7 separate regions of the Homo sapiens genome follow, and all the other regions are linked to region 5. Evidence: promoter capture Hi-C in 16 types of primary human blood cells and fetal thymus (Javierre and others, 2016). All regions are on one chromosome and are shown on one strand. The core of a region is centred on a gene start or on the middle of the fragment in contact, and the rest is flanking DNA. Distances in the headings are between cores, read along the strand shown. Region 1 overlaps EOLA2-DT (EOLA2 divergent transcript). Region 2 overlaps EOLA2-DT (EOLA2 divergent transcript). Region 3 has its middle 130 kb from the start of EOLA2-DT. Region 4 overlaps EOLA2-DT (EOLA2 divergent transcript). Region 5 holds the start of MAMLD1 (mastermind like domain containing 1). Region 6 has its middle 92 kb from the start of EOLA2-DT. Region 7 has its middle 110 kb from the start of EOLA2-DT.

The links. Contacts are between HindIII fragments. The CHiCAGO score rates a contact against its expected background, and 5 or more counts as called.
Region 1: a contact is called between a fragment that was not itself captured here and the fragment with the promoter of MAMLD1 in region 5, in 3 of 17 cell types (M0 macrophages, M1 macrophages and M2 macrophages). The highest score is 7.4, in M0 macrophages.
Region 2: a fragment that was not itself captured here is called in contact with the fragment with the promoter of MAMLD1 in region 5 in 7 of 17 cell types (M1 macrophages, M0 macrophages, megakaryocytes and 4 more); the score reaches 15.8 in M1 macrophages.
Region 3: a fragment that was not itself captured here is called in contact with the fragment with the promoter of MAMLD1 in region 5 in 2 of 17 cell types (M0 macrophages and M1 macrophages); the score reaches 6.4 in M0 macrophages.
Region 4: a fragment that was not itself captured here is called in contact with the fragment with the promoter of MAMLD1 in region 5 in 3 of 17 cell types (M0 macrophages, endothelial precursors and M2 macrophages); the score reaches 6.9 in M0 macrophages.
Region 6: a fragment that was not itself captured here is called in contact with the fragment with the promoter of MAMLD1 in region 5 in 1 of 17 cell types (M0 macrophages); the score reaches 5.0 in M0 macrophages.
Region 7: a fragment that was not itself captured here is called in contact with the fragment with the promoter of MAMLD1 in region 5 in 2 of 17 cell types (M1 macrophages and M0 macrophages); the score reaches 7.9 in M1 macrophages.

The regions. Positions count from the first base shown.
Region 1 is chrX:150,006,226-150,009,090 of GRCh38, forward strand. All of the region lies in intron 9 of EOLA2-DT (EOLA2 divergent transcript), which reads left to right. Among named protein-coding and RNA genes, the nearest start is that of EOLA2-DT, 69 kb to the left of the region's middle. The HindIII fragment of the contact is 769 bases long and covers 1,046-1,814 here.
Region 2 is chrX:149,971,599-149,974,495 of GRCh38, forward strand. All of the region lies in intron 9 of EOLA2-DT (EOLA2 divergent transcript), which reads left to right. Among named protein-coding and RNA genes, the nearest start is that of EOLA2-DT, 34 kb to the left of the region's middle. The HindIII fragment of the contact is 3,804 bases long and covers 1-2,897 here.
Region 3 is chrX:150,071,511-150,074,318 of GRCh38, forward strand. No RefSeq gene overlaps it. Among named protein-coding and RNA genes, the nearest start is that of EOLA2-DT, 130 kb to the left of the region's middle. The HindIII fragment of the contact is 1,293 bases long and covers 751-2,043 here.
Region 4 is chrX:149,988,363-149,991,121 of GRCh38, forward strand. All of the region lies in intron 9 of EOLA2-DT (EOLA2 divergent transcript), which reads left to right. Among named protein-coding and RNA genes, the nearest start is that of EOLA2-DT, 51 kb to the left of the region's middle. The HindIII fragment of the contact is 2,699 bases long and covers 154-2,759 here.
Region 5 is chrX:150,361,924-150,364,623 of GRCh38, forward strand. It overlaps MAMLD1 (mastermind like domain containing 1), which reads left to right and starts at 1,394. Exons shown (of 8, transcript NM_005491.5): 1 at 1,394-1,607. The HindIII fragment of the contact is 7,703 bases long and covers 1-2,700 here.
Region 6 is chrX:150,029,216-150,032,218 of GRCh38, forward strand. No RefSeq gene overlaps it. Among named protein-coding and RNA genes, the nearest start is that of EOLA2-DT, 92 kb to the left of the region's middle. The HindIII fragment of the contact is 9,213 bases long and covers 1-3,003 here.
Region 7 is chrX:150,049,292-150,052,184 of GRCh38, forward strand. No RefSeq gene overlaps it. Among named protein-coding and RNA genes, the nearest start is that of EOLA2-DT, 110 kb to the left of the region's middle. The HindIII fragment of the contact is 1,756 bases long and covers 718-2,473 here.

The DNA.
Region 1 (2,865 bases), core at 180-2,679, 360 kb before region 5:
AATTATTAGAGAGCCTGGTCCCTACCTTGGCTTTGTACTTGGTGTCTTTTTCCACTGAGGACTGAAATTCTGTTGTCCTTTTCAGTCTTCCTGGGGTCTGTGCTTGTCCACTGCCAGAATTCTCTGGGATCACTCATCTGCCTATCCATGGAGATATTTGTCTAAGGCTTCTGTCCAAGACTCCACAATGTCTCATAGCCTACTAGCCAGCATAGCCTTTTGTTGCTTACTGTTGATCCTCAGTGAGGCTGCTGGCCTGCCTTGCCTGGACCTCTGCCTGCTGCTTATTACCAGACCCTCTTAAGGTGTGCTTCATCTGCTCTGTGGGGACATTGCCCTCTAACTCATGTCTGGGCCTACACAACACAGATTATTAGTCTCTACTTCTCATCTCTTATTGGAGACCCTAACCTCAAAGCCATAATGGGCCTGCCTAGTCTCTATGTTTTAGATTTCCCCAGGCTGGTCTATTCTAGTCCCAGCCAAGTTTCAGTTATAACTTGTGAAGACTATATGGGCAGTCCTTGGGCCAGGTTGCCCTGCCTGGGCCAGGTTTGTGGGCCCATCCCTTGAGATGAAAGCTACTGTGTCTAGTTTCTCAGTCACTATGCACCAGTTAATGAACAACCTTGTAAAACTTTGCTTTTGATGACCTTGTAGGCTAATTTCAAGTTAATATTCTGAGATGGATGATGAAGGAGAATTTTTGTGTCTTTGTAGCCTACAGTAGGTAGAGGGATGCTGTTGGGAATTTTTGAGCCACCCTGAGAAAATTAGGTGAAGGTGAGAAATGCCTGTGTGATCATTTTGGAAGCTAAGTTGCATATGAATCTAAGGTGGCATTGTTAGTAGTAGTAGTACTTAGTCTAGTAGTATTCAGCTCCTTGCCAAGGTGCTTCTGGCTTAATGAAATGACCCAGAGCTTCAGCTCCATAGCAGGGTCACGTGTATTGGCTAGCTACATGTCCTTGTGTTGAGGACTTACACTTTTTGAACCTCAATTTTCTTACATGTCAAGTGAGGTTTTGTGGATGATATCTTTATAAGCTTTCAGACAATGTCAAGGAATACCGGTTAGTGGGTAGTGTATGTGAAAGTGTTTTAAGAACTGTAATGCATCATACAGGTTATCTAGTCTTCCTTCCCAGATGGATGGAGTTTACAGACATGGGACTTCTTTCCCAGCATTGGTGGACAGAGAAGATTTGGATCAACATCCTGAGGTCAGAGTGAAGGCAAACAGCTTGACATGGAGCTAGATGAGACCAGCGAGACAGTACACAAAGCCAAGTACTTCGGGGCCAGCAGAGCTAATGCATGAGGAAGTTTGAAGGAGAGGAATTTCCTGAGTGGAGAGGAATTTCCTGACCTAGAGTACAGGGGCTACTGGCTTCTTTTTGTTTGGTGCCTGCTGTTGCTTGTCTGGTAGCTTAGACTCAAGTTATTCTGGAAGCAGTTAAAGGGTAGAAGAAGAGCAGACCTAATGTGTGGGACTATTCTTATAAGGTATGACAGGATTTAGGGACCAGGCAAAGGGTGCAAAGCCAGTATCAGCTAGTCCAAGGTAAACCCAGTTCAAAGGAGAAGAGTAAATGACCTAAGTGAGCAGCAAAGGCAGACCATATTTGGACACTAATAATGGTGAATTTTATGTGTCAACTTGACTAGCTTATGGTGCCCAGTTGTTTGGTCAAATACTAGTCTAGATATTGCTGTTTAGGGATTTTTTTAGATGAGATTAACATTTAAATCAGCAAACTTTGAGTAAAGCATTACCCTCCATAATGTGGGTGGGCCTCATCCAATTCATTGAAAGCTTTGAGATTAAAAAAAAAAAATGTGGTTTCCCAAAGAAGAAAACATTTGGCCTCAAAACCGTAACATGGAAACCCTGCCTGAGTTTCTAGGCTGCTTGACCAGCCATGCAAATTTTGGATTCCAGACTGTAACATCACTTCTTACCCGGGTTTCTAGCCTGTCTGCATGTGCAGACTTACCATCTCCCACAATCATCTGAACTAGTTCCTTAAAATCTCTAACACCTGAAAGGAACAGGACTCCACAAAGACCAACCTCTCTGACAGTCCTGCTGAAATAGTAAAACGATCAAGCATAGAGTTTTTGTGCTAAACATTCCAGGGGTGCTTATTTATTGAGGAACAGTGTTTCTAATCTTCAAGAAATTTTATTCCCTGAGAAATTTCCCCATTTATTTTAATTTGCTTGTGCAGTCTTTTAAGTGGGTTATATTACTTTGTACATGGATCGCTTTGCTGTGCTTTTATATGAAAATCATTATTAGTAGTCAACATAAGATACAAAGTGTACTGCTTCTATAAAGCTTATCTTACAGCATATATATAGCCTGCTGAAAATATATTGCTCATTTGTTATTAAAAATCCTACCCAAGTAAAAAAAAAAAAAAATCTCTCTCTCTCCCTCTCTCTCTCTCTCCATACGCAGACACACACACACACCCCCATGCACGCACGCGTGCATGCACTATGGTTGGAATGTTGTTTGTCCCCTTCAAAATTCATGTTGAAATTTGATTGCCATTGTGACAATATTTAGGAAGTGGGGCCTTTGAGAGGTGATTGGATCGACAGGGCTCTGCCCTCATGAGTGGATTAATGCTGTTGAGTAGGAGTGAGTATGTTATAAAAGGGCAAGTTTGGCCCCCTTTTGCTCTCTCCCTCTCAGCTCTTTTGCTCTTCTGCCATGTGAGGAATAGTGTTTCTCCCTCTGGAGGATGTAGCATTCAAGAAGCCGTCTTGGAAGTGGAGACAGCTTTGACTCGATGCCAAATCAGCTGGTACCATGATCATGGACTTCCAGCTTCCAGAACTGTGGAAAACATATTT
Region 2 (2,897 bases), core at 58-2,557, 390 kb before region 5:
GCCAAGTATGGAGCCTACACTTGAAATTAGATCCATTTCAGGTGAACATTTACTAAGCATCTACTAAGTGACAGGTACTTATCAGTGATGAATAAACATGTTCCTTGGTTTTGAGAGCTTATAGGCTTGTCAGAATATGAGCAAATAATTTCAACACAATATGCTAAGTGTCATGATAGAGAACTTTGTGTGATGCCGTGGAGTCATACGGAGGGGCACCTAATCCAGTCTGATAATGTTGTGAAAGACTACCTGAAGAAGTGACACCTCAGTTAAGTTTTGAAGGTTCATTGGAGATTGGCCAAGGGTAAAGATATTCTAGGCTGAGAGATCAGCCCCAGTCAGGGCACAGAGGTGCAAACCAGTATGGTATGTTTTTAGGATTGCTGGAGTATTCCTTGCCAAGGGGAAAATGGCAGAAATGATGACTTAGAGAGGTAGGTGAGATTCAGATCATTGAGTACGTAGACTTTGCTTTGTACACCATTAGTTACTACACATTGCTGAATTATTGAAATCATCTGGGGAACAGGCATTTTCTTAGTTAGCTAGATTTGAGAGTCACATGTGGAGGCAATGAGTGACATAGACTGCCCTGTTGCATCACTCTGGTGACAGTCTACATGGAGGCAGGTAGATTTGAAAGGGATGCTACTAGACGCCTAGAGACCATTTTGAAGGTCACTGAATTCATCTAAGAGATATGGTGGACTGTATAAGGCAGTAGCAGTGAGGACAGAGAGGAAGAGGCAGATGCAAAATGGTGAAACTCTTACGATGTTGTGGGGAGGATTGGTGAGGGAGAGAAAAGTGTCTAAGGTAATTCTCCAGGTTTCTGGCATGGCTGTCTGAGTAGATGGTGGTATTTTTGACCAAGTTCAGGAATGAACAGTGGAGATAGAATGTACAAAAAAATTGGATAAATTCAGCTTGGAACCTGCTGAATTTGAGGTACTGTGGGACTTCCAGAGGGGAGAGCAGCTATTTTGTTCTGGAACTCAGGATGTGTCTAGGCTGGAAATACAGGTCAAGGCCTCTATGTCTGGGCAGTTTAAACCCAAGTGAATAGTAAGACATCTCTCAGAGAGAATGTGTGGAGAGTGCATCTTCAATAATTCTACCCCCTTTCGACTTCAAAGGCTGTTCCCATGGGGAAGCAGAAGCAGCGTATTTCTCTCTCTCTCTTTTTAATGTTTGAGGCAACAAGGGATACTGAAAATGCTATAAAAGGTGGAGTTAGAAAACCTGAGTTCAAGCCCTGCTTCTGACACTTCACCACTCTGCAACCGTCAGTAGTTCCTGAGCCTCTCTTAGCCTCCAGGTCTTCATCTGTGAAACAAGGGTAGTAGGAATAACTGCTTCACAGGATTATTAAGATAGTCCAATGAGAATGTGTATGTGGAAAGTGCTGTGTAAAGAACCATAGAAACATCATTTTTGTTGTTGTTGTTGTTTGTTTGTTTGTTTTGTTTTTTTCCCCTAGAAACTTGGACCAATATGTAGGAATTACGGGGAGACAGATTTGGTCCAATATAAGGAAAGACTAATACTTTGACTGTTGGATGATGGGAAGAGCTTTGGGAGATGGGAAGCTCTGAGGCTCTGGATATCCTTAAGCAAAAGCCAGGTTTCTGGGCATATGCTGAGCGTTTTGTTGTCAGGGGTTGGGTCATCCTGCATGACCTCTGAGTTACCTTTCAGGCTCAGATAGAATTTGAGTTACTAGAACACTTATCTACCTATTTTCTGAAATTTTCTACACTAAGTAGATTTTTTAAATTGTAAAAGCAATACAAGCGCATGGTCTTTCCCTTTGACTCTCTTAAAGTACTGGGCATTTTGGATCCTAAGTGGAGACTTGGTTTATATACCCTGAATAATGGGGCAAACTGCCTCATGTCTTACTGCATGAGGCATTTATGGACAGACATTTTCTTAATGTTCTTTAATGAGATCTCTTTAAAATAATAATTTTTTTCTTATTTTCAAGCAGAAATGATATTATAAAAAGCTAACAAAATATTGCCAAGTAGAGGTCTTGATCGAGTATACTCCAATGAGTAGGTAAAGGTCATTTGAAATCAGCACACTAATTATTTATATGCAAATGAATTTGTTAGAGAGCTTGGAAAGAGTTGTTCTCTGAACTGGGTTAAACATCCCCTAAGAGCTCATGTTTATACTCTTAATTTACTCAGAAACCTGTTGTTGCTCTTTCTTTTTTTTTTTTTAATTATACTTTAAGTTTTAGGGTACATGTGCACATTGTGCAGGTTAGTTACATATGTATACATGTGCCATGCTGGTGCGCTGCACCCACTAACTCGTCATCTAGCATTAGGTATATCTCCCAATGCTATCCCTCCCCCCTCCCCCAACCCCACCACAGTCCCCAGAGTGTGATATTCCCCTTCCTGTGTCCATGTGATCTCATTGTTCAATTCCCACCTATGAGTGAGAATATGCGGTGTTTGGTTTTTTGTTCTTGCGATAGTTTACTGAGAATGATGGTTTCCAATTTCATCCATGTCCCTACAAAGGACATGAACTCATCATTTCTTATGGCTGCATAGTATTCCATGGTGTATATGTGCCACATTTTCTTAATCCAGTCTATCATTGTTGGACATTTGGGTTGGTTCCAAGTCTTTGCTATTGTGAATAATGCCTCAATAAACATACGTGTGCATGTGTCTTTATAGCAGCATGATTTATAGTCATTTGGGTATATACCCAGTAATGGGATGGCTGGGTCAAATGGTAGACATTTATGCAGCCAAAAAACACATGAAAAAATGCTCATCATCACTGGCCATCAGAGAAATGCAAATCAAAACCACTATGAGATATCATCTCACACCAGTTAGAATGGCAATCATTAAAAAGTCAGGAAACAA
Region 3 (2,808 bases), core at 147-2,646, 290 kb before region 5:
CACCCCTACTGGGGGGTGCCTCCCAGTTAGGCTACTCAGGGGTCAGGGACCCACTTGAGGAGGCAGTCTGTCCATTCTCAGATCTCAAGCTGCATGCTGGGAGAATCACTACTCGATGCTCAAATTTTTAAAACCTTTTTATTTTGAGATAATTTTAGGTTTTCGAAAAAGTTGCAAAAACACTGCAGAGAACTAACTGCAGCACACCCATAAGCCAGCTTACCCGATGTCAACCTCTGCATAACCATGGTACAGTTCTCAAAATTAAGAAATTAACCTTGGTACAATACTATTAACTAAACTATAGACTTTATTTAGATTTTACCAGTTTTTCCACTGATGTCTTTTTTCCATTTTAGATCCAATCCAGCATATCCCTTTGCATTTAGTCATCATATCTCCTTAAGTATCCTCCAGTCTATGATACTTGATCAAAACAGCACCCATCAGTTATTTTGTAGAATGTGCCTCAAATTTGATTTGGTCTGATTTTTTTCTCGTGATTAGATTGAAGTTATACATTATTGGGAAGGCCACCACAGAGGTGATGTGCCTTTCTCACTCTGTTGTATCAGGGGATACATGATATTCATATGTATTACTGGGTATGTTAACCTTAATCACCTGGCTAAAGTGATTTCTACCAGGATTCCCTACCAGCAACTTATAATTCCCTCTTCCCCACCTTGTTAATTACTAAATATTTTAGGAAAAATACTTTGAGAATACGCAAACATCCTATTCTGCTTAAGCTTTTGCTCACTCATTATCACATCCATTGATAGATTCCTCCTGTGGCATTTATCACTGTGGTGTTCTAATGGTGATATTGCTTCCTTCATCCCTCCTACATCTATTTAATTGGAATTTTTCTCTCTCATTCACTTATTCATTCGATTATTTATATCAGAATGAATTCATAAATTTTATTTTATGCTTTAACGTATAATCTAATACTCTCAATATTTATTGCTCGTTGCTCAAATTGCTGCAATTTTGACCATTGGGAACTTTCTCAGGTTGGCTCCTGTGTCCTTTCAATATGCCCCTGTTATTTTTTTTTTAAGGCTGCCTAACTTTTATTTAAAAGGGGGTGTGTTTCTGGGTTGCTACAATATTGAAAGTTTGGTTTTCAACCAAGGGCAATTTTGCCTGATCTCTCAGGGTAAATTTAGCAATAAGTGGAGATATTTTTGGTTGTCATAACTGCCAAGCATCCTACAGTGCATAGTACAGCCTCCCACAGCAAAGAATTTTCCTGTCCAAAATGTCAGTAGTGCTGAGGTTGAGAAGCTCTGGTCTAGAGCATTATTTTCTTGATGCTCAGATGTATGGTAGCAAAACCAAATATTGTGAGGAATAAAAATGCTTTTTAAAAGTATATTTTTAAAGTATTAAACATTTTGTGCTTGGAAGAATATTTAAAAAGTAATATAATAGGAGACTTTCTCTTCCATCCATGATAGAATATCAGGGACTAATTACCTTCCATCTTAAACAACTAGAAAACCAGAGAGAAAATATGAAATAATGGCTTTTAGACATTGGACAACAGGCAGTACAAAAGTACAAGATGGTGATTCCTGACAGAGAGAATACAAGTAAGGTGAGCCCTATGATTTTCGTAGCTTATTGCCTGGAGTAATTTTCTAGGCTGCAGCAGAGAAAGAGAGGACCAAAACCAATCCTAGAGCTCTTGATCAGTAAGGCAGACAAAGATTAGAGTCCAGGGAGACCACGAAGGCTGGAAATTGCAGGGAGCAAGATTTGTATAGAGAAAGCTCCAGAGATGTGCAGAGGGTCCCCTCTAGTCTTTGGCTGAATTCTGACCTGCAGCTCATGTATGAGGAAAAAAAAATCTACCCTTGGGCAGTGATAGACCATGAGAAAACAATAGACTGAAAAATTAACAGGGCTCACACAGGTCTGGGAATAGACCTGTAATACCTGGAGTAGGAACTACAATGTTCCAAAGGATATTGTCTTAGTAGTAGGGCTTAGTTATTTGTAGACTAAAGGCTGCTATGGACCTGCCTTGAACAAAGCTTAAAAGTAAGCCTTGAAAGAATCAGATACCATATAAGTTGACTGCATCCCAGAACAAAACCCACCAATATTTAAAGGAATGCAACAAAATCCACCACCCAACTGTGTAAAATCCACTTTGTACAGCACCCAAGAAAACATTATTGGCCATGCAAAAAAAAAAACCTGTGGAATATGATTCTTAACCAGGATAGATGACAATCAATAAAAATAGACTTTGAAATGACAGAGATGATGGCATTAGCAGACAAGAAAGTTAAAACAGCTTTTATAAATATGCTCTATATGATTATGAAGGTGGAGAAAACATGGATATGGCTAAGAGAAAAATGGAAGATATAAAAAAGCCAAAATCAAACTAGTAGAGATGACAGATACAATATATGAAATGAAAAATGTACTGGATGAGATTAACAGTGTAGAAACTGCAGCAGATTAGTCAACTTGAAGTCATAGCAATAAAAATTACTCAAAATGATGAACAGACAGAAAAGACTGAAAAAAAAGAACATAACATGAGTGACGTGGGGCAACATAAAGGGATCTAGCATGCATAATTGGAGCAGCAGGAGGGGGAGAGGGCAGAAAAATATTTGAAAAGTAAGGCTGGGAAATGTTTAAATTTTATGAAAACTAAATATTCTTTTATCCAATAATCTCACCAAACTCCAACAAAATAAATGTAAAGAAAACTACATTATGACACATCATGATCAAATTATTGAAAAATAATTGTGGATAAAGAAAAATGTTAAAAGCAAC
Region 4 (2,759 bases), core at 253-2,752, 370 kb before region 5:
GTTAAGGGAGCAGCCCCTCTCTAGGAGAAGCAGTTCTCATGGCAGAGGAAAAATAGCACTGATTGAATCAGTGTTGGCTGTCAAAGCTGCTGCTCTGAAGTGGTACACATCACTTCTGTTCACATGTCATTGGAAAATCAAGTCTTATGGCCAAGCTTGATGTCAATAAGCCTGGAAAATAAAAATAATCCTTCCACAGGTAAAATTATATTTTTGCCAAAGGAAATAAATAGCTGTGTTGCGTATAAAATTATGAATTGGTTTTTCGCAGAATTTTGAAGGCATTGCTCCATTGTCTCCTCGTTTTCAGTGTTGTTATTTAAAAGGCTGATGCCAATCTAGTTCTGGTATAAGAGTCTTCCGTATAAGCATTGTTTTTTTCCTTTGCTCTGAAACCTTTTAGGTTCTTTTTTTTTTTAGCCCTTATAATTCAGACATGTTTTGACAGTGTGACTTGGTATAGATCTTTATGCATTCATTTTACTGATCCTTCCTTAGGAGCTTTAAATGTGGAAATTTATGTCCTTATTTTTCTTACATTATGACTTTGATAATTTTCTCCCCTTCGTTTTTTCTTTCTGAAATTTCAATTATTTGGATATTAGACCTCCCATATTGTTCCTCTGCTTTTCTTGTCTTTTCCTCTCTTGGTCTTTATGTTCTTCTTTTTGGGAGATTTTCTTATTTTAATCCTTTTACTTTTTTGCAGTTTGATTATCATATTTTCAGTGTCCTTAAATTCCTTTGTTTTCTGTGTCTTCCTTTTTGTAGTATCCTGCTTATGCTTATGGATATAAATTTTCTCTTATCTCTGAGGATATTAATTATAGTTTTAAGTTTTCTTCTGTTATTGTATCATCTCTGTTTTCTCTGTTTGTTTGTTTTGACTTCTCTCATATTGGAAGAGTTCCTCAAATGTTTTGTGATCCTTGGCTGTCTATTCATATTGAAGAGTGGAACTCTCTTGTTTCCTGGGGGCAAAGGGAGAGGATAAAATAGTTATCTAGGTAGCTGCATGCTGAAAAGTATATATGGGAGCCTGCTGCTCCCTATACAGAGTTTTAATTCCTGTTTTCCTGTGTCTTATCCCAATTTCTGTGGTACTTGGTATTTCTAAACCCTTAAGCCTTCCCAGGATTCAATGGGGACTAATTGTTTCACTTTTCATTGGCATGTCTTTCTGCAAGCACTTAGGTTCTAACTTGCTTTTCCTTTACTCTCTGAAATAAATATTCGTTCTTCCCATCATTTCCTGTCTTCGAAACATTTATGGATAATTCTTGTCCACTAATGTCTCCTTCCCTGTTTTCTTAGTCTGCGTGGACTTAACACCTCTTTCTCTCTGTCTTTCTCTTCTCTCTCTCTCTCTCTCTCTCACACACACACACACACACACACACACACTTTTTATTTGCATTGTTTTAATTCCATTAATGAGACTTCGGGAGGGAGAGAGATAATCATGTGTTATCAGTCTGCCATGTTTAACCAGAAGTCAAGCTGTGGTAGAATTTTTTAAATGTAGTTTTCTTTACCTCATGCTAAACTGAGCATGGCCTTAAAATCTACCCCTGTTCTTTGAAATAAAACTAGCCTTATACTTGGATAGATGACATGCTTTCACCACCAAATTTTAAAGACAAAACTTGAATGTTGATGGAAATTAAAATGTGTTTAGCACTTTCTGACACTATGCATGGTAAATAAATAAATGAATGAATCAGTGAAAAGAAAGGAAAGTCACCATAATGGATACTCTTGAGTTTCCCACTCCAGCTGCACTCTCTACCCTTCCTTACCCTGCTCTGGGCCCCTGGAGACTGACTTCTATGGGCTGCATCAACCAGGCTCCCTTGTCCTCTGGCTTCCAGTTAGGTTTGACAATGCAACGTATCAGTGGGGGAGGGAGAAAGGATCAGAGGGTTGAGAGGAAAGCCAGATCTCAGTATTTACTTCTCCAGCTTCTTCTCTGCCAGGTCACATTTGGCAGTGGCTGTGTTCCACTATTTCATGCCATAGCTTGTGTTGGGTTGTCCCTCTCTGACAGCCTCAGCTTTTACCAGGTTCTGGTAACCATTACTCTCCTTCTCACTTCAGGTCGAGAGATGGTAGTGGTTTCTTCCTGCTACTGATCCAGGACCAATGCACCTTACCTTATAGGTTCCCTTAACCCTGCCCCTACCTTCAGTTACACCTTTTGAATGTGCTGTGTTTCCTGCCAAGACCCTGCTTGATACAAATGTTATGGTAGCACTGTCTCATTATCATCCATGTATTCTTGAACAACATACTCCACATCATGGGCCTCAGTTTCCATATCTGAAAAGTACTAAGGTGGCGATAGGTGGTCTGGTCTGTCATGTAAGAACTCCTTCCTGTTCTGACATCTCTGGTTTTATATGATGCAGCAGTGGTCAGTAGCCAGCTCTAGCTCTAAGTTCTCTTTTATAGACTTTGTGGACCATTGTGGATAATTCTGAGTGGTGGATGATCACAAAACAATTTCTTCCTGTCTTTGGGAGGCAGTTTGCTGGAGCAAAAGGATTATAGACTTTGGAGTCAGACCAGGGTTCAAATTTGAGTGTACTACTTTCTTACTATATGACCTTTAATCCATTACTAAACCTCTCTAAGTCTCACATTCTTCATCTTAAGATTAGGGTATATGATGGACACTGCTAGTTATCTATCCTAGCCGTTTTCTTTTCCCTTGCTAAAAGAATACTATTTTCCATTACATATGTAGCTGAACATTTAGT
Region 5 (2,700 bases), core at 144-2,643:
GGGAGCATCGCGTGCCCTGGTCCAGTGGAACGGGAGACTGGCCAGCGAGCCTGGACTCTGAGCTAAGCGTACTGGCGGGCGACGCCGACAGCGTCCGCGCTAAGGGTGGGGGACTGGGAAGTGGGGAGTGGGGCACTCGGCCGGGATGGAGAGAATGCAGTTCACTAACTGCCACCTGAGAGCCCTGGTCCCCGCTGCCGCCACAGCGGGTCTGTTTGGCAGTCAGGGCGCGAGCTGGTGAGCGGATGCGTGGGCGGAGGGACTGGCGCTACCCACCCAGCAGCCACCCACTGCAGGTGAGTGCCCCTCCCAGGGCGAGGGGAGGAGAAGGGCCTGGCCGCTAGCCCTAGGGTCAGGCTCTGGTGAAAATGGGAAGGGGGATGGGGGCTGAATAGGCTACTTTGTGATGAGACTCCCGTCCCTGTGACACTTCAGGGTCCTCTGGGGATCTGTCATTCCTCTTGCAAGCTCTCTTGTTCTCTGGTCCCTCTCCTCCTCTCCTTATTTCCTCCTCTCCTCTCCTCTCCTCTCATCTCCTCTCCTCTCCTCTCCCTTCATCGTGTCTCTACCTCTATCTCCGCCGGTGCCTCTCTCGGTATCTGTCTCTCAGTCTCTGCCTTCTCTGTGTCTCGTACGGTCTCCTGTCTTTCTTGGTCTCTCGGTCCTGAGCGCTCTCTCGCCCTGTCACTGATGACCGCTGGCTTTTGGCTCTCCGTGCTCGCTCTTCGTGTGTCCCGGCCACGCACGGCTCACCAGCTCGTTTTCCCCAGACGCGGAAAGTCTACCTTCGGCGTGCGGGTTTCCCAAGCGCGCCGGGCCCCGCCTGCGGCCCTCCGGCGGGCTCTGTCTGCTGGAGGCGCTCCGCTAACCCTGCTGTCGCCTCTTTCCACCAGCGCACCGCCTAGGCAAGCCAGCTGACGCCGGGGGCACAGACCACCCTCCACTGAGTGCGGAGCAGCCAAGGTGAGTGCACCGATGCCCCTTCCGCCCCTCCGATCCCTCCCCAGCTGCCCTGGTTCGAGCCGACTGGAGAAATGAGGCTGCAACAGCGAAGCCAGCCTGCGGCCGCTTTCTCCTCTAAAGACTGGTGGGAGGGCCCGGGAGGCCCCTCGGGCGGCCGCAGCTCTTTGGCTGCCCGCTGCCCCATCCCGGAGTGGAAACCCTGAGTTTCCAGGCTTCGGGCTGGCGGGGTCGCGGGCAGGGCAGCGCGGCTTCCCCTTTAAGGCCGGAGCCGCTCGTCGCCGTGAGTGTGAGGGTGTGTGAGTGTGCGGCGTGCGTGTCTCCTCCTCCCCGAGTGACACAGCAGTGAGAAATGCCTATCAGTAACTTAAACCCCCGAAACTCCACCTTCCGGGCGCGCGGCGCGGAGCCGGGCGGTGGGAATGGAGCGAGCAGATTGAGGCCGCCACTGCAGCGCCGCCAGCATGAACTTGGCCGCGAGCTGAAGCGGCCGGCGGCGGGCGGGCGCGGGGGCACCGGCCGCTAGCCAGGGGGTGATCTGCAACAGGGCTGGGTTCCTTGGCGGCCGCCTGAGTCCAGGCTGCCCGCGCCGGCGGCCGCCCGCCCCTCGGACACTGCCCCCGCCGCCGCCGGAGCTCTGCAGCACGGTAAGGCTGAGGGCGGGTGCAGGAAGTCTGACTGTTCTGGGGGTTCCGGGGTACACTTGTAGCCCCCAGTTATGGTCCCCATCGCTGAGGATCGGGGTCCCAGGGGTGCTTCGAGTCGGTAGACCCTAAAGTTTGCTCTGAGCACACGGCCCACCTGGCGCTGCGGGCGGCCACCCCCTTCTCGAACCAGCCCGGCTGGGCTGGGCGCAGCTCGAAACGCCGGAGACCACGGCCTTTGGCTCGGCGCCCGTCGGGCGTCTGAAATCCGGCGGGGACAGCCACGTACCGGGGAGGAAAGGTAGAAGGGCGCAAGCTCCTCGGGCTACGCTGGGCTACTGGGAGGCTCCCACTCTGTCCCAGCACCCCCGGGTCGCTTGCAGCCTGGGTGTCACCGGCGACGGTGCCTTCACATGCCAGCTGCCTGAGCCCAGGCCAGTAGGCAGTGGGCGCTGGATGAAGGATTTCCCCACCCCAACGCTGTTTGCCGCCTCTGAGCGAGAGTGTGGAGTGTGCGCGCCGAATCCGCTGCCCTGCACTCCCTCCCCTGCCAACTCCTGGGAAGCGCAGCCCGGAGCTGAGCTGGTGTTCAGGGCAGCCCGGACTGGGTTCCTGCGGAGCAGCCCCGGCGCCCCTGCGTCAGAGTCCGCGCTTCAGGTTCCCCAGCATCCGCGCGACGACAGAGCTGGGCGCCCGGCGCCGGCTAGCGCGGGCGGGAAGCCCCCCGGAGCGCCGCCAAATACTTTTCTCGGCCAGTTGGCTTGGCCAGGCTCCGTCCCAATGCAGTGTGTCCGAAGCCTCCTGGAAAGCTGGAGATGTCGTCTGATTCTGATCCGTGATTAAATTCGGACTGAGCAGACACTAATAGGATTAGCCTGCCAGAAAGCTCGGCCCTGAAGCCATCGGAACCTGTGCAAACACGCGCCTCGGGCTGGAGCATTCACTCCCGCCCCGCCGCGCTTCTGCAGCTGGGTGCGGCTGACCTGGGCACCCGGAGTGTGGGTGTGTGTGAGCGGGCGGGAGCACAGCGTGGCTGGGGGACGTGGGGAGAAGGGGCTGCTTTTGCTGGGGTGGCTTGTCGTTGTTGTTTGGCACC
Region 6 (3,003 bases), core at 265-2,764, 330 kb before region 5:
CACAATGATTATTTTTTACTCTCGCCGACAGACCCACAAGATAATTTTACTCAGATCTTTACTGTAAGAACTTGTTGGATTTTTTTGAAGGTAAAGACAACAAAATGTTGGGGTTTTCCCTATGCCTGCAGTCCTCAATTTGTCATTCTCATAGTAGTCTACACTCAGCCTGCAGCAATTTGTTAAAATTACCAGTTTTGGTATTCCTAGTTTGTGACTCCAGTGACTCTGGTCCAAGCAAGCAAATTGCAGCTATGTCTCTCTGGATGTTCCTGACTCTCTAGATTTCAGGGTGGTGGTTTGCCCTACAACCTCATTTGTCTGAAGGATTCATGAAAAGTCATTGATTTTAAGTTTGTCCAGCTTCTTCTTGTAAGGATGGGAGTGATGATTTCCACGATCTTGTCAGAACTTAAATCAGAGTAATATTCCAAAATTTATATGAAAAGACACAGGTCCTAGAATAACTAGAACAATTTTGAAAAAGAGTAATAAAGTTGGAGGAATCGGTCTACCTAACATTAAGGCTAACTACATAGCTGTGGTAACCAAGACCATGCAGTATTGCCAGATGAGTTAGATATATAGGTCAATGGAACAGAATAGAGAACCCAGAAATAGACCCACATAAATATTCCCAACTGAATTTTAACAAAGATGCAAAGGTGATTCAATGAAGGAAGGATAGACTTTTCAACAAATGGTGCTGTGTTGGAACAACTGGATATTCATAGGCAACACAAACAAAGTTCAACTTAAGCCTTACACCTTATGTAGACATTTACTCAAAATGGATCATGTAAGTTTTTAAAACATAAAACTAAACATATTTTAGAAAACTGGAAAAAATCTTCCAGCTCTAAGGCTAGGCAACAGATTCTTAGACTTGACACCAAAAGCATGATCCATAAAAGGAAAAAGTAATTGGTAAATTGGAACTCATCAAAGTTAAAAACTTTCTGTGGAAGTTTTTATGAAACATCCTTTTAAATATGAAAATACAAGCTATAAACTGGAAGAAAGTATTTGTAAATCATATCCAACAAAGAATATATAAATAACTCTCAAAACTCAATAGAGTAAAAAAAATCCTATTAGAAAATAAGCAACAAACAGCAACAGACATTTCACTGAAGAAGATATACAGATGACAAATAGGCACATGAAAAGTTGTTCAATCAACATCACCATTAAAGAAATATAAGTTAATACCATAATGTGATATTACTATACCTCCATGCATGGATCTTTCCACATTGCTTATGGGTAATAGTATGACCACTCTGGAAAATGGTTTAGTGGTTTCTTACAAAACTAATAATACACCTACTATACTATTCAGCAATCATATTACTGGGTGTGTATCTCAGAGAAATGAAAACATACATCCATACAAAAACCTGTACATGAAATTCGTTCATAGCAGAGCTGTTTTCAATGATCAAAAAACAGAAACAACCCAGGTGTTTGGTTAATAGGTGAATGGTTAAAAAAATTATGGTACATCCATACCATGGAATACTACTCAGTGATTAAAAAAAAAGAATGAACTACTGATATATACAACTTGGATGGATCTCATTGGCATTATGCTGAATGAAAAAAGGCAATCTCAAAAGGTCACTGTTAGGTTCCAGGTAGGTGGGACATGGCTTTATTCAGCAGTTTCTTCACACTGTCGGTGCTGCATTTATGCACCTCACAGACCATAATGGCTCAGAGGCAGGTGATGAGCCCTCCCACGTTATGGCTACATAGCTGTGATTATGTAATGCATGGGATTGTGCGCCTGTGCTCCAATCCCACTGTGTCATACTGTGCAGGATGTGTACCTCAGCCTATACTTGACTGCAGCACAGCCATTGTCCTTACAATCACATACTGTAAGGACAGTATGTGATTCCATTTATATAATAGTCTCAAAAATGATAAAAAGATGGAGAACTGATTGGTGCTGTACAAAGGTTAGCAGTGTTGGTGAGGGGAGTTGTGACTATAAAGAGGTAGCATAAGGAAGATATTTGTGGTGATGGAATAGTTCCATTTCTGGATTGCAGTGGTGGTTACAAGAATACAGACGTGATTAAATGGCATAGAATTACACATATGCTTTGCACCAATGCCAATTTCCTGATGTTGGTATAGTACTATAGTTACATAAGATGTATCCATTAGAAAAAATTGAGTGAGAGTTTCACAGGACCTCTCTGTATTTACAACTTCATCTGATTCTACAATTATATCGATAAAATACTTCTTAAAGTAGCTTACAGTGGAGAAACCTGGCAGAAATCTCCTTAACCAAGGAATCAAGACTAACATCACTGGTAAGTTTATGTTCATATCTTGAACCCCTTATACTGTGTCATAAGAAACGCACTTCACCTCTGTGCTATCCTTCCCCAAAATATATAATCCCAGTCTAATTATGAGAAAACATTACACAAACCCAAATTGGGGGGTATTCTACAAAGTACTTGACCATTTATCTTTAAAATTATTGAGATCATGAAAAACAAGGAAACATTAATAAATTTCCATAGATTGGAAGCAAATAAGATATGATGACTAAATGTGACATAATATTCTGGATTGCATCCTGGAACATGAAAAGGACATTAATGGGAAAACTGGTGAGCTACATTATACAAAATAACTGATCAGTGCTCTTCAAGGTGTCAAGATTATCAAAGACATAAAAGAATGGATGAACTGCCATAGATTGGAGGAGACAATGCAATGTGAAATCCTGAATTTGACCCTGAACAGAAAATGCAATGTAGTGGAGAAACTGGTAAAATGCAGATAAAATCTAGTTTAGTTAATCATATTGTACCAAAGTTCATTTCTTAGTTTTGATAACTCTGATGGTTATAAAAGATGTTGACATGAAGAATGCTGGATGAAGTGTGTGCAGCAACTGTTTGCTGTTTTTGCAACTTTTCTGTAATTTTAAAATTATTTCAAAATAAACTTTTAAAGAAAGCCTCCTGGGAGATTCTA
Region 7 (2,893 bases), core at 346-2,845, 310 kb before region 5:
TTTAAATATATTTTAAAAATTTCTTTCCAAAGCAATTTAAAGTGTATATAAGGAAAACATAAATAACATATTTCACAACTTAAATGCTTTTTTATGCAAATTCTAATATCTGTTTCAGAAATCATTTCTATAAGAAAATGAAATCTTAAAAGCTGTGCAATACAAATGTGCATTTTATTTAAAAAAAAGGAAAACAGAGAAACCAATGAAAAGAAAGAGTGTTTAAGAGCTATTTCAGAGTAAAAACTTAATATATTAATTCTTTGAGAAGTAATTTTTGTTGGAAAGGAGGAGCTGGTGCATGTCAATTAAGTGGAATTTATTTAAAAGATCTCATAAATATTATTAATCTATCCTAAAACATTATCTTTCTGTACTGCATTGTGCCTTTGTGGAGTTTGAATTCTAAGGACAACATTTTTCATTCTCAAATGAAGCTGACTTCAAGAAAGAACAGCAGACCAAGCAGCAATGCTGGCCTCCTCTGTCTTGCAGAGCACTCTTATAATGAAAGGGCTTGTGGAATTTGGCTCCATTTCCTACAGCCATGGGATAAGGGTTGCATGTAAACAATAATATCCTGTGCTGTTTGGGCCTCATTTAACTGTCTTTATTACTTTAGAAGGAACTGCCAAGTGGTGCTGTTTCTCATAGCTCATGCTTTACATACCAGCGGTATTGTAGGGTCTGCTTCAAAGATGGCACTCCACACCACGAAGCTTGTGGCTGTTGGCACACTTGGTTGTCACCAGGCTTCATGTTGACACATTCCTTCAAGTCACACCAAAGGTGCACTTTCCATGAAGAATGAATCTGGTACACTGAAGGTGGGCCTGTTATTGCAGAAGGCCTTTGCAGTTACCATTTGGGTGTTTTCCTAGAAAGCTATAGCAGCTCTGCACCTAGAATGACTGTGTTTGCTGAATTACAAACAGAGAGGTGATTTTTGCAAAGTAAGCTGTTACATTATTGACAGAGCACTAAGCTGGAGTCAGGAGATCTATGCTGTACTCCCCAGCTGACTAGCTCTTTAGCTCTAGGGGAAACATCCTTGATTTCCCTGGCTTGTTTTCTAACCTTGAAATGATGAGATTATGCTAGATAATCTCTAAATTCCTCTCTGGCCTAAATTTGATCAGGCAAATTAAAACAGTAAACAACAAACAGTGAGTCAAGAAACAGAAGTTCCCAATCCAAGCTCTGCTGCTCAGTAATTGTGACTTGAGACAAGTCATTTAACCATTCAGACTCAGGTCTCCATTGCTGGGGAGACCAAAGTCTTCTCTACCTGCCCCACCTGGTGGTTGTGCCTGTTGAATAGGGAAACATCTTTTTCACTCAACACATACTGAACAATTGCTCTGTGGCACCAGCTTGATAGATAGCGAAGAAGCACAGGTTATTAGATTATCTGTTACTACTACTAATATTAACTACAGTTTAGTGATCACTTTCTATTTCCAGGAATGTACATACAATATTACATTTAGTCTTCATTTTATGGAGGAGGAAATTTGAGGTTCAGAGAGGTTTAATAATTTGTTCAGACTCATGTAGCTCTGCAGAGCTGGAGCTGAGATTTGAACCAGCATTCTTCTGTTCTTTATTTTAATGGTTACAAAATATCTCACCTCTGACAAGGAGCTTGTGTTACTATCATTATTTTTCTGGGCCATAGTGTCTGAATCCCAAGATCTAAAATCTGTTGGGGGGCAGGCAGATGAGGGGACTGATCTGGCTTGGGCTGAAGGAGAGATTCTCTTTACAGACACAGGCTGAGGCAGCACAGCCAGGGTAGTAAAAATACCTGAGGGACAGCCCTCAGGTATTTTTCAAGCCTTTCTCTGGCTTGTAGACTTATTTTCAAGTCTACAAGCCAGAGGAAGTCCAAGTGGATTGCCCAAACTGAGGAACCAAAATCAGCAGTCACTGAGATGACTGGTCAGGTGAGTGCGGAATAAAGCAAGCACTGTGAGTCACAGGAAGGTGAGAGTGCTTTGGTACAGTTTCCAAGGCTTGGCATTGTTTGCAACGAGTTTTGAGTGAAGCTCATGGTATGGTATGTGGTTAGAGCAACCCCTCTAAAAAGCCATGCAGAGGGCAGAAAAAGCCCTCAGTTTTCTCACCAGTAGAAGAAAGGCTCATTGGCTAAATGAGCTCTGAGTGCATCCCTTAGTCAAACATTCTCTTAGCCAGCAGATATGCAGAGCTGGGCTACACCAGGGTTCTGAGCAATAAACAAGTGCTCTTGGTAGGCCATTTTTTCTCTCTTTGGAACGTGACGCTGAGTTTCTGAGATGCTGGGATTCGCTTTTGGTGTGTCAGGAGCTGCACTGGCAGGTCCCCATCCCCCACAAAGCAACCCCTGTTCTGTTGGCCAACACTTCCCAGGGCAGCCCTCCCATCAAGGGAAGTGGGCTTTCTAGCCTTTGGGAGGTTGTACAACTGCACCTAGTTGCCATAGACACAGCCAAGCTTTTTGTATGTCTGCTTCACTCCTCCAAGACTGCTGCTTCTCAGACCATACTGATGATGCTTTCTCCTACTTCCTAGCCTAAAAGAGAATGGTTTGCTTACTTGGTCTTTGGTTTAGAAGTGGCTGTTTGTCCTAACATTGGACTCGTGCACCTGAAATCATGGCCTCAATGGCAGAAGCAGGCCAGTCAGGGAGGAGAGAGGGCTGACCCCTGGTATTGGATATGGCCACTAACCAGGACCCAGGCTTGGGAAAGTGGCATTGTTACAGGCAAAGGCAGACAAGAAGGTGAGAAGAATACTCTCCACGCAGACCTAGGTGCCTCGGTGATATTCTAGAAAATGGTCAGTGCTGAGGAATACAGCATAACCAACATAATAACAATAATTACAATAGCACAAGAAGACACTTGTATGG